5 separate regions of the Homo sapiens genome follow, and all the other regions are linked to region 3. Evidence: promoter capture Hi-C in human tissues and cell types (Jung and others, 2019). All regions are on one chromosome and are shown on one strand. Each heading gives the region's core, a stretch centred on a gene start or on the middle of the fragment in contact. The rest is flanking DNA. Distances are from core to core; before and after follow the strand shown.

What was found. Contacts are between HindIII fragments. The study calls those that stand out against the background at their distance.
Region 1: a contact is called between a fragment that was not itself captured here and the fragment with the promoter of PTPRZ1 in region 3, in 2 of the 25 tissues and cell types used here (H1 embryonic stem cells and hippocampus).
Region 2: a contact is called between a fragment that was not itself captured here and the fragment with the promoter of PTPRZ1 in region 3, in 1 of the 25 tissues and cell types used here (hippocampus).
Region 4: a contact is called between a fragment that was not itself captured here and the fragment with the promoter of PTPRZ1 in region 3, in 2 of the 25 tissues and cell types used here (H1 embryonic stem cells and adrenal gland).
Region 5: a fragment that was not itself captured here is called in contact with the fragment with the promoter of PTPRZ1 in region 3 in 2 of the 25 tissues and cell types used here (H1 embryonic stem cells and dorsolateral prefrontal cortex).

The regions. Positions count from the first base shown.
Region 1 is chr7:121,621,743-121,625,176 of GRCh38, forward strand. No RefSeq gene overlaps it. Among named protein-coding and RNA genes, the nearest start is that of FAM3C, 230 kb to the left of the region's middle. The HindIII fragment of the contact is 9,273 bases long and covers 1-3,434 here.
Region 2 is chr7:121,738,696-121,741,803 of GRCh38, forward strand. No RefSeq gene overlaps it. Among named protein-coding and RNA genes, the nearest start is that of PTPRZ1, 130 kb to the right of the region's middle. The HindIII fragment of the contact is 5,727 bases long and covers 1-3,108 here.
Region 3 is chr7:121,871,886-121,875,043 of GRCh38, forward strand. PTPRZ1 (protein tyrosine phosphatase receptor type Z1) reads left to right here and starts at 1,276. Exons shown (of 30, transcript NM_002851.3): 1 at 1,276-1,672. The coding sequence starts at 1,615. RefSeq lists an enhancer at 1,232-1,733. The HindIII fragment of the contact is 8,425 bases long and covers 1-3,158 here.
Region 4 is chr7:122,006,482-122,009,656 of GRCh38, forward strand. The region is part of intron 11 of PTPRZ1 (protein tyrosine phosphatase receptor type Z1); the gene reads left to right. Among named protein-coding and RNA genes, the nearest start is that of PTPRZ1, 130 kb to the left of the region's middle. The HindIII fragment of the contact is 3,900 bases long and covers 1-3,175 here.
Region 5 is chr7:121,641,931-121,645,074 of GRCh38, forward strand. No RefSeq gene overlaps it. Among named protein-coding and RNA genes, the nearest start is that of PTPRZ1, 230 kb to the right of the region's middle. The HindIII fragment of the contact is 6,391 bases long and covers 1-3,144 here.

The sequences.
Region 1 (3,434 bases), core at 521-3,020, 250 kb before region 3:
AACAGAATTACATAAATAGAAATTCTGAGGTGGCTGCTTAGTAATTTTTTTTTTTAAATGCCCCCCAGGAATCCTAACCTTGAAATGAGATAGTTCTTCTTACAATATAAAAAATTCAGAAATTATAAAAGATAAACTATTCGAGTTTTTGTTCATGTAAGGATCAGGAATTTCTACCCATAAGCAAAGACAAATGAAAAATGGAAAAAATATAAATAGAAAGCCAAAATCCAATGGCAAAATGAATCAATGATATGAACAGGCGGTTTATATTAAATGACATACATACCAAATGGTTTCTAAACATGTGAAAATATGTTAAACTTTGCTCATAATGAGATCATTGTAAATTTAAAACATACTGAAATACCACTTATCAAAATGTCAAAAATTCCAGCCTGATAACGTGCTGCGTTGGCTAGACTGAAGGCAAACAGGCATTTCTTATACTTTGTTGCTGGGAGTGTAAATTAGTGCAATTCTTACAGAGAATAACATGGTGCTATCAATTAATACTATAAATGCATATGTTCTTAGACCTAGCAAATCCTCCTTCTAAGGATTTTTCTGTTATTTCGGAAAATTTTAGATTTTCTTTCATATTTTGAAATTTCATAATACTATGTCTGGCTGTGAGGTTTTCCTTATCTTTCCTATGTCCCCTTAAGGCCTTGCAGTCTTAAGTCTTTCAACAAAACTTATCCTCATTATTTCTCAAATAGTCTCTTCTTGCCTTATTCCTTTTCTTTTTCATTGTAACTTCTATTATCTCAGTTTTGGCACTTCTACAGCTGTACTCCATATTTCCTAGCTTTCTTTTTCTATTTTCTGCTGAATTCAAGTAATTTAAAAGTTGTTATCCAACCAATCTTACTATTGTTATATCTGTACTGTACCTCTCAACCCAAGCGCCTTGTTTTCCCCAAAAGTTTGTCACAGGTTTTTGTTAGATTCTTAGATCCACGTTTTCCTCTTTTTTTTTTTTTTTTTTTTTTTTCCTGCTTTGTTTCTGTTTGTTGTTTCACCATAGCTGTTTTGGGAAAAAGGAATTAGTAGCTTGGACTAGTTCAATATCTAGTCAGGGTCCCAGATGATTCTTAAGTATAGTACACTAAAATGCAAGAACCTCTGTTTTAAAGTTTGAACTAATGCATGAATTATATTTTCATAGACGATTAGATCTGGCTTCAGATTCCAGCTCTGTCTTATATTAACTGTGTTTGACTTACCATAATTATTTAACCTTTCTAAGCTACATTCTTCAACAATCAAATTAAAATAATATTTACCTTACCTGCCTCACCTACCATGAGGATAAACAACAAATTCTGTAAGGCATAAATAAAGTAAGTTTGGTGGCGGCCATTTGGAAACTAAAACTTAGAAGAGCAGAATAGTAAAAACTTTAACTATACTCCCATAAAGGCATCCTGATGATCTGGAAGTTTCGTGTGCTTTTCTGCTGATCAGTCCCACTCGTGGATTGTTAAAATGAGTAAAATGAATGAGTCAGCCATTCAGTGTAGTGCTCATCATTCACAGATAAGCAGCTAGGCTAGAGCACTGGTAAGACCATAAATAATCATATATTCTGTCAAGTTTCTCCTTATACTCCAAAGCAATCGCATAGCATCGTGTATAGATGATGAATGAGGCTGAAATGATTGGGTGAGCTGTGCAGTGGTATTGTATGGTGACTGTAGAAATGACCACTCAAATGTCCATTTCTTAACTAGCCAGATATACAGCCAATGCATTTCAGACAGATTGCTTTTGACAAGCCAGTAATCAAATCTATGTTTGGGACCAAGAAGCTAAATGGCAGAAAATGCAATGTCATTAACGTCTTTTAGAGAAATACCATAGTGTGTGTCAAGTATATGGAAAGCGCATGAACTGATAAGTATGTGCTCATCTTGGGGGAAAAGCCTCCAGGCTATGTCCCAGAAGACCTCACCTAACCACTTGATGGCCACTGTTCCTTTGATCATTTCTGAAGGCTAGATCTGTTTCTCAGTCTTGCAGCTCACAAACTTGACATTTTCTTTTTCCTTTTACTTTGTTCTTTTGTTTAGCACTCCTGCCCACATCTCAGGGGCAAACTTATATAAAACTTCAAAACTGATGTATAAACCTTGAATATTAATTTGTTAATTTGTGGGAAGAGATTATAGTGTATATTGGCAGCACATTCTTTTCTTGCAGGAAGAACTACATGGAAAGCTAAATAATAATTACAAGACTGCTTAGTAAATATAGAATCACAGAAAAGAAAGCTAGCTAGGAGAATAGGAGTCAGGTAGTCTAATGCATTTAGCTACACAGTAGATATTGTCTTGAGAATGAACCCAGAATGCCTGGAGTCCTTTGGCTATGGCCACCTCCACTGGACAATTGTTAGATAGACACTGCCAATGTTCAACTCAGTGCCTTTCTGACTTTTCTTTGAAAGAAAGCCTCAAGGGCTGATATGGTTTAAAGTGGATCTCTTAGGAATCCAATGATAGTATTTCTGGGTGGATCAGAAGGCCAAGATATAATCTCAGAGGGAAGGAAAGAAAAATAAATTGGCTGATGAACAATTGCTTCACTTACCAAAATTAATAAATGAAATAAAAAATTATTTTAGGTGAGCAATCAAACATTTATAATATGTCAGTCACTGTGTGCTAAGTGTTCCAGATATAGAGTATTTAAGATAAATATTAACCTTAAAGAGCTTACAGTCTAAGTGGGGAATAAATCACTTCAACAATGTACTCAATAGAGCTGAACAGAAATTGAATAGCAGTAGTCCACAGTAAGAAGAATATTCTTACTGCTTTTTTATCTACTTAATCCAAAATTCTCTCCTCTCTCAAGGAAACCAAGTTTGGGTTCCTATGCAATCTTTTGACTTTATCTTCTGCTAGTTTTCAAGTTTCCTAATATAGGAAAGAATGCAGACAATACTGGGTACAAGCATTAGCTGTGTCTGTAGTAATAATAAACCAGGGTCTTCACAGAACATGAAGTCCAGCCTGGCTGGTGCTCTACCTCCTCCACACTCCTTTTTTAGCTTAATCTATGTTCCAGTGGATGCATGCCTTCCCAGGAAATGATGCTCTGTGCCTCATCACCTGACTCTAAACTTCCGTTTTAGGATCTAAATAGCTGAGTATGTATAAATTTGATCTGGAAAGAATCAGAAAAATATATTTCCACGGAAAAAAATATCAAAATTGTTTTTTATTAGAGAAAAGCTCACAGTACTGCTAGACTGGCTCAATGTGATTCAATTATTTATTTTGTGGACAGCAGGGGCAGAGTTGCTCCCCCTCAACCTTTTCTCCACTTTGTGGGAATATTGCTAAGAAGGCACAGCCATGATGTGCTGCCTCGGAAAACTGCCCAGTGGACTGACGTCATGGGAATTTGCTGAGCCTGTTTCATGG
Region 2 (3,108 bases), core at 156-2,655, 130 kb before region 3:
AAGATCAAGACCGTCCTGGCCAACATGGTGAAACCCCGTCTCTACTAAAAATACAGAAAAATTAGCCAGGCATGGCAGCACGCACCTGTAGTCCCAGATACTCAGGAGGCTGAGGCAGGAGAATTGCTTAAATCCGGGAGGTGGAGGCTGCAGTGTGCCAAGATTGTGCCACTGCACTCCAGCCTGGCGACAGAGTGAGACTCCGTCTAAAAAAATAAAAAACAAAGGAAGTGCTATCAAATTAAGTTTTTAATTTGATCTAATTTGATAAGAAGCAATATCTGGCGATAAAATTGCAAAGAGAGATAAGCTCCTAATTTTGGATTAAAACACTCAGAAACTCCAAACTACATAGTGTTATCATAATACTTTATAGCCAGGCTTTGTATCTAGGCTCTGTTATTTTGCAAGCAACTTACTTTAACCTCTTTCAGCTTTAGCTTTCTCTTGGGTAAAATGAATAGCATATATATAATACTTGGAAAATATTAAATTTATGTGTTCTTATTTCTCTGTGTAAATCGTGTTCCCTTGATGCTACCCCCAGAATGAGGAGGATATGACATTAGGAGAAGTCACTGACATACAGTAAAGGCGAAAAAAAAAAAAAGGAAAAAGAAAAACAAGAAAACTTTTCTGGACCTAGAGGAGGAGGAGGAAAGGGAACAGGGAGTGAAAACAGTGGTCAGGCAGTGACCTAAATTCCAACCCCGCCCCCCAAACCTCACGATTCAAACCTAAAGCATGCACCGGAGAGCAAGGATTAGGTTTTAAAAGGAGAATCAGTCAAAGGGGATATGGGGAAACCTTTAACCCAACTTCTTTGTTCAGACACTGGAAGGAAATTACCTCAGAGGAAAACAAAACGGGGCTGTCACATCAGAATAAAAATGGTGGTTAGCAGATGAGATGCCCGAAATGAATGTGCTGAGTGGGAATTTCAGCCCAGCCACAGCCCAACTGTGATTGACAACACAGTTAGAGGCAAGGTTGGGCTGAGGCAACAGAGATGGCCAAACAACATGGGAGCTTCACCAATATTTCACAGCTGTGGACTTCAACATAAGAGCCTGCGTTACCTTAAAGCACAGTATAAGTGTGAGGATCCATCTTCATCACAAGAAGGCACATAAAACTTAACTTCCTTATTTAGAGTCCATCTGGAAAAGGAAGAGATAGAAGAAAATAGGAAAGATGAAGTATTTACACCTTCCACAAAAAGGGATGGTAATATGGTGGGAAACACTAACTTGCTTTAAGATTTTTTTAACAGATAAAATTGTAGCTATTTACTGCATACAACATGATATTTTGAATAAGCCAGGCACAGTAAGACAAATACCGTATGATCTCACTCAGATGTGGCATCTAAGAAAGTTGATCTCATAAAAGTAGAGAGTAGAATGGTGGTTACCAGAGGCTGAGGTGGTTGGGGAGCATGGGGGTTGGGCAAAGGATACAAAATTTCAGTTAAATAGGAGAAATAAGTTCAAGAGATATATTGTGCAAAGTGGTGACTACAGTTAATAATATATTGTATTCTTGCAACGTGCTAAGAGAGTGATGTAAAGTATTCTCATCACAAAAATCGTAACTATGTGAGGCAATTTATTTTATTTGGAAAGTTGTCCTCATTCCTCCCACCCTGCACCCCTACTACAGATTGAAATAAAATATGGTACACTGTCTCTCTCTCTCTCTCTCTATATATATATATATACACACACACACACATATATAGTTTTATCTATATTTTAATTAAATGTATACACACAACTATATATGTAATATATGTGTATGTCTATATATAGTATATATATACTATATATAGTATATACACACATATATCTACTATATATGTCATATATATGATATATCTACTATATATCATATCTACTTTAATATATAGTATATATAAAATATATATAAGATATGGTATATCTACTATATATCTACATATATAGTAGATATATATACTATATATCTACATATATAGTAGATATATATACTATATATCTACATATATAGTAGATATATATACTATATATCTACATATATATGTAGATATATATACTATATATCTACTACATATATCTACATATATAGTAGATGTGTCTACTATATATCACATATATAGTAGATATATATGTGATATATAGTAGATATATGTGTGTATACACGATATGATTATACACACTCTGAGTTAAATGTATAAATTTTCAGCCATATTTACAAAATTTTTTAAAAGAAGCACAGAGCCCAGCCAGTGTTTCAAATGCGTTAACTGCCTAATAAAAGCATTTTCATTCACATTTAACATGCTTTGTTGAGTTGTTGAGTTACTGAGTGTTAATATGGCAGGCTTTCTGCTAGGCACTAGATACCACCATAGGTGGTCAAGGCACATTGATAGGGTCCCTGATTCCAGTGGGTTGTAAGGTTATAACAGGGATATTTAAACTAACTTGACTCTCAGAGTGAATTAACGCCTCGGGCTTCATAGGCAAGCCTTAATATATCAGTGGAGAGAAAAAAAAAAACACTATACAAAAAGAAGGAAAGAAGAGAGGGGCAAGAGTGGATGTAGTAACACTTCACCAACAATTATCCTGACTATTTCCAGGATATTTTGTATCTTACACAGCCAATGCTCATGCCTGACCTAATTCTAAAAGGAAAGTTAATGGGGACGACCATGAATGGCAACAGCATGGCTCACTGAGTTTTCAAGAGCTGATTCAGTCTGCCCCAAGGAGGTTCATCTTGCTGGTTAAATCATATCTTTTGAGAATCGGGAAAATTCAAGATGTTTGATGCTTGTAATACCGGTTACTAAAAGCTGGTCCTAGTTTTTAATCTATATTTTAATTAAATATAATTTTTATGACAAAACGTTTGTAATTTATAGCAGTTTTCTCACTCAATTATTTGAGTATAACAGGAGAGAGGATGCTATTTTTCTATGCTGCAACAATACTCATTTATAGGGGCTGTTAATGGTTTGGGGTATTTCACATACCTAACTGCAAGCCATATAATATTATAATGAGGTACTAAGGACCATTATTAATTTAATAATTCAAAGTTTAAATGCTGCAAAAAGAGCAA
Region 3 (3,158 bases), core at 26-2,525:
TATTAGCAAGAACTCGTAGTAACACTTGAAATACATTCAGAACCCAATTTTATGTGCAGGAAGTTTTCTTTAAAATTTTTAAAGCTAGAATACTATTTTTGAGACAAGAACAGGACACAAGAGTATACACTGTACAGATACCTACTTCAAATTGTTACTAAGAATACATGGGATAATTCCACAACTTGGCTTTCTGTGCCTTAGATGGGACTCCTAAAAGGCTCTAAAGTGGGTCTCATATACGAAAAACATGTACTAATAGTTAAAGGATATCATATAAATGAAAATCTCATAAATTTTCAGTGTAGAGACTACCACCAATTACCTTCTCATTATTTCCTTTTGGCTTCAAATTAATTCAACAAATATTCAGGGAACACCTATTGATTTTTTTTAAGGCCATTTTGCTAGGATCTGGGGTTATAGTAATAAAGGTAAACTCCCTGCCATCAAGGCGCTCACAGTCTAATTCTGAACACCACCAAAGAAAAGAGCACATGAGGGTGACATTTCCAGCTCTAAGGCAGCAGAAGGTATGCATTATACATTTTTTGCATACCCTTCAATCAAGCAATAAAAAATCTTCCCGTTCGACCCTGTGGGAGGAGGCACTTGTGTGGTTCGGTCTGGCAGGACCACCGCCGTGTTGAAAGTCCCCCCAGACAGCTGTGCCCAGCACGGCAGTTTCGTTGGGGTCTAGGGAAAGGGCAGGGTCAGACTGGTCACAATCAGGGCTGGAGATTTTTTGGAGTCAACTCTCCCAAAGGCAATGGGGTCTACTGCTTTATTAGGAAAATGGAAAGAAAAAAGGGAGGGAAACAATGTACCCAGGCGCCCCCACCGCATTCTGATTGGACCCACTTAAGCATCTGCAGAAAACAATAAAATGAAAAAAACTCTTAGAGGTGAAACTCAAAGGTCAACCTCTGGCTGTGCGGGACAATGGGTGTCCGGCCTTCCCTTCCCTTCCCTTCCGAAGTGATGAAGGAGTTCCAATGTTCTGCGAACACTGGAAACCCCAGCGGATCCCTCTAACTCCAGGGCAGCGAAACCACTGGCAGCGGACAGAGGGAGGATTGTCGGTGTGTGAATTGCTACCCTGGGATCCGGACCCAGAGCGGCAGCCGCGCCCCTCCGCCCCCCGCGCGACCCCGGGTCCGAGGCACGCTCCCAGCGGAGCGGTCCTGCGCCCCCGCCCCCTCCAGGAGCCGCGGCGCGCACAGCCGGGCTGGAGCGCGCACCCGGCACTGAGGCTTCGCTGCTCTCGGAGCGCTCAGACCGCGGCCGCCGCAGCCGGCGAAAGAGGCAAAGTCCCGCACGCCGGAGGACATGCGCCTCGGCTAGCGGCCCCGGGCCCCACCACCGTGCGGCTTTCTCCAGATTATTCCTCTCTCGCTGTCTCTGACTGTCTCTCTCTGTCTCTGTCTCTGTCTCTCTCTCTCTCACACACACACACACACACACAAACACACATACGCACGCACGATCTCACTTCGATCTATACACTGGAGGATTAAAACAAACAAACAAAAAAAACATTTCCTTCGCTCCCCCTCCCTCTCCACTCTGAGAAGCAGAGGAGCCGCACGGCGAGGGGCCGCAGACCGTCTGGAAATGCGAATCCTAAAGCGTTTCCTCGCTTGCATTCAGCTCCTCTGTGTTTGCCGCCTGGGTGAGTGAGAAGAGCTCGGTGGGGTTTCAGCTCCGGGATCGGTGGGATGAGGGTGGGAGCATTTCAGCGTGTCCGCGACTTGCCGCCGCCGCCGCCATCTAGCCAGGAGGAAAAAGGGACAGCCAACTGGGCTCCCACGGAGCGGGCGGCCGCGCGGTGCAGGCAGCTGCGTGGGATTTGCGCGCCCCCTCCCCGCCCCGCGCCCTCGCCCCTTCCATCGGCCCGCGGGCATTCGTGCCCCGGGCCCCAGGAGACGGAGCTACTGGAGACGGAGGGCTACTCGGATCCCTGCCGCCACCGTTCTTCTCTCCTCTTTTGCAAAGTGTAGAAATCGCCTTTTAGATATACATAGGAAGATAAATGACCAGAAATACAGCTGTGGTGCGGGGCTGTGTACTGTACTGTCTTTTTTGCTGTTCATTTTTATGCTATAGGTATGATGGGCTTAAATGGAAAGTACACGTGTCTGGTGTGAATTGCAGACACACACACACACACACACACACACCTGAAAGGTAGTAACAGGCACAAGCACCAACCTGACTTTTCAGGGTTTTTTTTATTACTTTCAATTTAGTCATATTCAAGTCTGCGCAATTACTTACAAAAAAAAAAGTTCCATCTAAATCTCTAGGTTTGGTCAGTGCTGCCAAAGTCAGAGGAGAGCTGCAGGTTGATATACTTATTCACAGATTTCATTTTTCATCTGCACCCTCCAGGTTACATTTAAAACTGAAATTGCATTCAGCAATAGCCAGTTTAAGCATTCCCTTTACCTGCGATGCAGACTCAAGTTTTCCAGTCATTTTCGAGAAGTGCAAGATTGGACTTTTGCGTTTTATTAAAGAAATGCTTTTTTTCCTTCATGATTTTCCATCGCGATAGAATATAATGGGTTTACGCATTAACCTGAAAGTTACAAAGTGTTGTACTTCGCTTTGTGAGTACACATATTTAATTCTTTTCAGAGGCTCCCAATTTTTCAATTTTAGATGGTTCATAGTAGAGTAGATATTAAGCGTACATTTTCATCCAATAGATGGTGCTGCTCTTGGCACAGTAACCTTTACAAACAGAAACTATTTTTAAGTTCTAATAAATGAAAATTACATTGCAAATACGGTGATAATTGCCCATAGACCCCCACACACGGACATAATTTAAATTTCAAAGGCTTTATGAAAGTGCTTGGGGTGGTGTGATGCATAGTTGACACATAAGACATGCAAGGGAATCTCTGGTCTCCATTGATTCTAAAACCTTATAGTCAGTTCTGGAGAGGGGAAGACAGCTTTAAAAAGTACGTGGTCATCAAACATCTGTTGAATTCACATTTCTATTGTAGATCTATTTTAACAAAGAAGGCAGGTCCTCTTAGTAATTAAATTATGTAAGTAAATATCACAGTAGCAAGGAAATAAACCAGAGAGTATTGCTTTGTATGTCTTCAAAACCACATGCCCAGAGCATGTTGCGGATCTCTTTG
Region 4 (3,175 bases), core at 317-2,816, 130 kb after region 3:
GAGAACATGCAGTATTTATCTTTCTGTTCCTGGCTTATTCCACTTACATAATGGAGGTATATCTTTATTTTTGTCATACACTCTACAATAGAGATACCTAAAGCTATTCCTGTCATGGTGCCTCTGGTCTTGCCATGTACATATATGACAAACACAAGCAGATCTTCCTGTTAGAGAAGAATGTGAAGATATGTGAGCAGGCTGGCTTGTTGTAGTCAGAGAAAAGTTCCTAGATAGGAGGAAAAAAAAAGCCTCAGTGCATCAGCCCAGGTCTCAACAGGAAACAGATGCCACACTCAAGTGGAGTCATGGAGGTTAATTTAATCAAAAAGGATGATTCACAGGTGTGGGAAGTCTTAATGCAAACAAACAAGGGGTGGCATTGTACATTTGGTATGAATTATATCAGGGACTCGTTGTTACATCTAAACTGAAAGGCAAGAGGGCAAGGAGAAGGTGCAGAGAGAATGGCACAGCAGATGCTGTGGCCTCTGTAATGAGACAGCACCATCCTGTGGTGACCAGTTAGGTAAGGAACCTCCCAAGGAATAACCACATTATCTGGCCACCCGCCTAGAATGAATGGAGACAGGTGGAGAGAGGCTGTGGAAAGCAAAATGAGAATATACAACACACTGAGGAAGGAGTCACCTGAGAAAGCAGAGTAGAATTAAAAATCAATGTCATTACTTGTTGGTAGAAGGCTATGATCTAGAGGAAAATGAGGAGGAGAAAGAATTCTTATGACATTAGGCTTATTTGGTTTGTGGGGCTTTACCCATGGTGGTAGTACCCAAAGAAACAGCAGCTCTAATTCTTTGAGCTGGAAGAATCCTTGGCACTGCCAAGGGGGAGGGAACCAGCTACCACCACACAGATGGGGATTTAAAATAAAGGATACAGGAGCAGTGATTGGTAAGCTTGGCTTGGTAAATTGGTAGTAGTTCTTGCTATTGAAATTAACTATTGTATTAATAATATATTGTCAAATCGAAAGAGACCCATGTCACAATATGTCTTCCTGGAGCATGATTATGAGATGGGATGAAAACACTTCTTAACCAATCCACTATTCACTTCCTTTGCTTCATGCAGGAATGAATGACAGGCTGGAAAATGCATGGAATATATTCATAATGACTTTTAATCCCTGAATATAGAAATAAAGAGTTTGAAGGATATTTCTTAGATCCTCTCCAAACAGAAATGTATGACTTTGCAAGACAAAGTATCTGTAGCATGATCATGGCTTTACACTAACTTTTAAAAATGAAGTTGTGAAGGATAACATATGACACAGATCAAAACTACAGTGGAAGAGTCACAATAACTCTATAAAGAAATTGTAGGAAAGAGTATTTGTTAAAATATTTGTAGTCAGATATGAATAAAGTAATCATAGGGTATGAATGATATGTTCTTCTTAAAATGTTGACATAGCCAATGTGACCTTACAGCGATCAACAAGATATGGTAGGGTAGGATTAATGAAGGTCTAATCACCCTCACTGGGTTCTGAGAGGTTCTGAACCTCATAAAGTTTATAGAACGCATATGTATCTGATGTGTGCATAGTTTTTTCCCAACTATGTAATAAGAAGAGGTGTGTAGCATTATGTTACAATAAAAATTTTATGAAAATTTACATTGCTTATAGGAGGATATGATAAAGGATGTTTATGTGGAAATATAAGCAAAGAGAAAGAAATGTAATATTATTGTGGAAGTCAATAGACATTGTTAGATCATATAGAGAAAATGGATGACATATCTTTGGGGAACTTTTGCTGTGAAGGAGAGACGAGAAGTAGAATGATAACTAGAAGGTGAATTAGAGGTTTTCCTTTGTGTTTCCTTTAAATAAGAGAGATCAGAGTTGATTTAAGCTGATGAGAATTATCTGTTTGAGAATTTGAGAAAACAAATCAGAAACACAAAATAGACTGAACTACTCAATTATGTTCAATTCCCAGGTTCATGATAGGGACTAGATCTAAAACACAGAAGTGCGAATTAGCTTTAGAAAGGAAGGAAAACAACTCTTTAGTTATAACAGGACAGGAGGGGCAGAGATAACTTGGTTGGTCCCTGTTTTTATGTTAAGAAGAAGTGTGTCTTTGGTGGCTTCTATTTTCCCTGAAAACAGGAAGGCCATCTGCTGAGAATGGGAGGAAAGGATAGGAAAATGAAGGTTTGACAGAGTTTTGGTAGAGAGAAGGAGTGTGGAGTGATACCAGAAAACTAGGCAAATATTTAGGTTTGCAAAAACAAGGAAGAGTTTAGAAACTCCACACTGCCAAGCTTAACATTGATCCCCAGCAAAACTCTGCATCACATTATAAAACAAATATTTATGAGAACTTCTAAGGAAAGAAGAGATAATTGGCACCAACCAATTTTCCCTAAAAGCAAGTCAAGGCAAATTATTCTCATTTCCTTTTGCATTAAGTTTTTAGGTTTGTAGATTATAGGAATATTTTATTTAGGAAATTATTTGGGAAAATCTCTCAGGTGGTCCTTGTGAACAAGGTATCACACAGAATGTAAAACTTCATAAAGAATACTGACTACTTGTAAGGAAATTTTTCAAGGGAATCTGAGAGAGTAGCCATTTTTAGCACTCAATATAATTCAGATCAAGTGCACTAACTTCCTAAAGTTGTCACTTATGCTTCAGAAGATACTCACGACCAGCCAAATAATTAAGCTGTAAATAATGAGGCAGCCATTAAGCTTGGAATCGTGTGTTTCATACAGTGCAGATTTCCGTGTGTATGACACATGCTCATGAGCACACACAGCTTAAGATTCAGATTCTTTCTACTGATACTGGTCAAGTTCTCAATGGCTGTACTCAGTAATTTTTTTCTTTTAAGGAACATGGCCTTAAAATATCTAATAGATGATCAAATAAATGACAATTCTAACAAGCTGTTGGGTACAAAGATACTGACAAAATCATGTCCCACATGAACTAAAAAAAAAAAAAAAACTTGATAACTTTGGCAATTGAGTTTTCTAAGTATATAATTAGATATAATATACCCAGTTTTATGTATATATACGTATATGTATATATATACATATATTGAATCTTCCATGCAATGAAGATTATGCTTAAAGCATAGGTCTTGGTTAACTTCTAGCTAGAAGACTAGACGTCTCCTCCTGGGTC
Region 5 (3,144 bases), core at 605-3,104, 230 kb before region 3:
CAAATCTTTATCAGAATTGCTGGGGGTCATCAAATTTGGTAGGGAACATCAAAGCCTTGGTGCTCTTTTCTTATGCAGCTTGTTGCATTATTAATATGTGTCACCTGAAATTTTCTAACATACATATAACCTTTTGGAAACAAATTTAAATCCCTATTATAGCTAACATCATGCTTCAAGTTTCTAAAATTCAATAATTCCTTTGAAGTAGTTAAGAATGATAAAGAAAGAAAATTAATAGACTTTTTCTCTTATTAGAAAGAATAGGCTGTGTCAAGAAGGAAGCAAATGACAAATGAACAGCATGGGTATTGCAAAAGTTCTTTTTGGTTCTTTAATTATTTTTGTCATACACTTAGTTTAAAGGTCAAATAATCTGGTAGTTTTATAAGAAAAAAATCCCAGAACCACCCCCACCCAAACACACGTATTTCTTCTTTTCAGAAGCAATCCTTTCATCAATTTTCATATTTATTTTGAAATTAACCCCTATGTCCCTGAATCATATGCTTGATACGTCCTTTCATGATGTTCCTGTCTTAGGCTGTGCTTACTGACCAGAATAAAATTTTCTCTTTGGAAAAGAAAAATTTTAACTCTATTTTCTTTACTGTTACCTCTGAATGGTAACTTTTTTACTTTCATCCTCCAACATAATTTTATTTTATTTATATACATTTCATATTAATTTTGTATAAATATTTTGTGTTTATATAACTGTGCAAATACAATTTATGATATATGGATGTATTACCCCTGCTAATTTTTTTCCTACACACAGCTTTTATTTCTTGGTATTTATTGTTTTGTTGTTGGCCTCGTTGCTGCTGCCAATTATTTGGTGTACTATGTACTTTCTATGTACTTCTCAATAATTCAATCTCAATCTCATTGGCATATGTCTTGCTCATCTCCATACATTCGAATGTATCAGGTATGCTGTCAGTTTTATCTTTCCAAAGATATCTTTTCTCATATTGGAAGTCCAAAAATCCTGTATTTGAGAATAAAAGTCAGTTATTTTATTTGCTTATTTATTTTGCTGGAGGTGATGGATGTATAGACTTACTTATTATCAAATAGAGTTTCAACCGTTCTCCACTTTCAGAGGATGGTACCATCAATTTCTGAAAGTTTGGAAGATATGAATATAGAATTTATTTGGGGTAGGTGGGTGGGGGGGGTCTTTTAAATTCACTTATTTATTTTCTTTTGGTCCAAACTTTTGTTGCTATTCTCTTTTCTACAATCCTTCACATCTTTTTTTGAGTTTGTATATTTTAAAATTCCCTTTATTAGTGTTTTAATGGGTTTGGGGGGGGAATAAAATAAAATCATTATTTTTATTCAACAGCCCCTGAGATAGTTTCTTGTAATGAAAGAATTGACACCAACCTCAGTGGTTTGGGCTCAGCTATTATTTTTATTTAGCTATTTTCAGATTATAGAACCTGAGAATGTGAGGATATAGAATAGCTACTGCTCTAAACAGCATCCAGTCAGGCTATATTTGTGATGATCCTTTTCTTGCCTTCTTATCTGTTCCTAAAAACAGTAGGAAAAAAAATGAAGTTTGTAGCACTGAGTAATAGCAACAGAAGAAACAAGGGAAACATATTATGTCATCTGTGAACACTTCCAACATTTTATTTATATCACATCATAGTTCTAATCACATTGTAGAGAAAATTATCTCTTACCATATTTGCTTTCAGTTGAATGAGAGCTTCTCCAAGGACTTTCGCTTCCAATTTTCCATCTCTTGAACCTTGCACACTACTTGGCAGGAGGTTAGAGCACATTGAACGTGTCAGGCCTTCTTGCCTTGCTATAAAGAAGTAACCAGAACAGAGTAACTTATAAAGAAAAGAGGTTTAATTGGCTCATGGTTCTGCAGGTTGTACAGGAAGTGTGCTAGCATCTGCTTCTGGCTAGAGCCTCAGGGAACTTACAGTCATAGCAGAAGGTGAAGATGAACCAACACATCACATAGGGAAAGCAGGAAGAAGAGAACAAGTCAGGGGGTGCCACGCACTTTTAAACAACCAGATCTCATATGAACTCAGAGTAAGAACTATCTTACTATTTCTATCACAAGGACAGCATCAAGCTATTCATGAGGGATCCACCACTATGACAAAACCACCTCCCACCAGGCTCCACCGCCAACACTGGGGATTGCATTGCAACATGAGATTTGGAGGGGACAAACATCCAAACTGTATCACTGCATAATACTGAAGGAAAAAGATTGAATGGCTATCATTCCTACAAATATCACTTTCAGGGCTGTACCACTGTCATTTTTTAAGCAGCTGCTCGGTGCCCACTGATTTCGGCAGTGTCAACATATGCTGAAGTGCATTCACTTCATTTTAGCCGATTCATTCACTTCAAACTATTTAAAAACTGATGCAACTCACTGCATGGCTGGTTCAGATGTAACAATCATGTTTTGTTCTATGAATAATAAATGAATAGATGACATGATTCAATTAAGAATCTAGGATGAAATATTTTTGAGGAAGCAGTGAATGGAAGAAAATTATCCAAATATGACTGAACACCTGCTCAGTTTATAATTTTTCTTTCAAAGAAAGGAGTGGTTATTAGAAAAGCAAAGCTATAGAAGAGACAATAGAGAGAAAAAAGGGTAAAATGATTCAAAACAAAAAAAAAACAAAATTTCTGAGTGGTAATGTACTTTTAAAAAAAAAAATGGAAGGACAGAATTAGTGCTGCCAAAATGTACAAACTCTTTCTCCCCATTTTTTCTCCTTGTGTGTTCACAGAGGCTTTAAAAGTGAACAATATCTAAAACTTGGAATTACACCACAGTTTAATCTTGAGAAAAAATCATGAGGAAGGACATTTCTCCAGGTAGCTAAAATAAATGCTGGTGTTTGAGCTGGGAGCATTGATTACTCAGGGATTCAGCAAATGTATCTTAGACATATAGTGGATTCTTGGATAGGGGATACCACTGTGGATTCAATATTAACCATTACTTTTGTTTTCAAGAAGTTTGGCATTTTCTAATATGAGAAAAACAGACAGTGAGTATGCAAATATGCAGATAGATATAATAAATTTAAGTATGTATTAAGGGGAAAGGTGACTTAAAATTTTTCTGTCTCTTCTGCA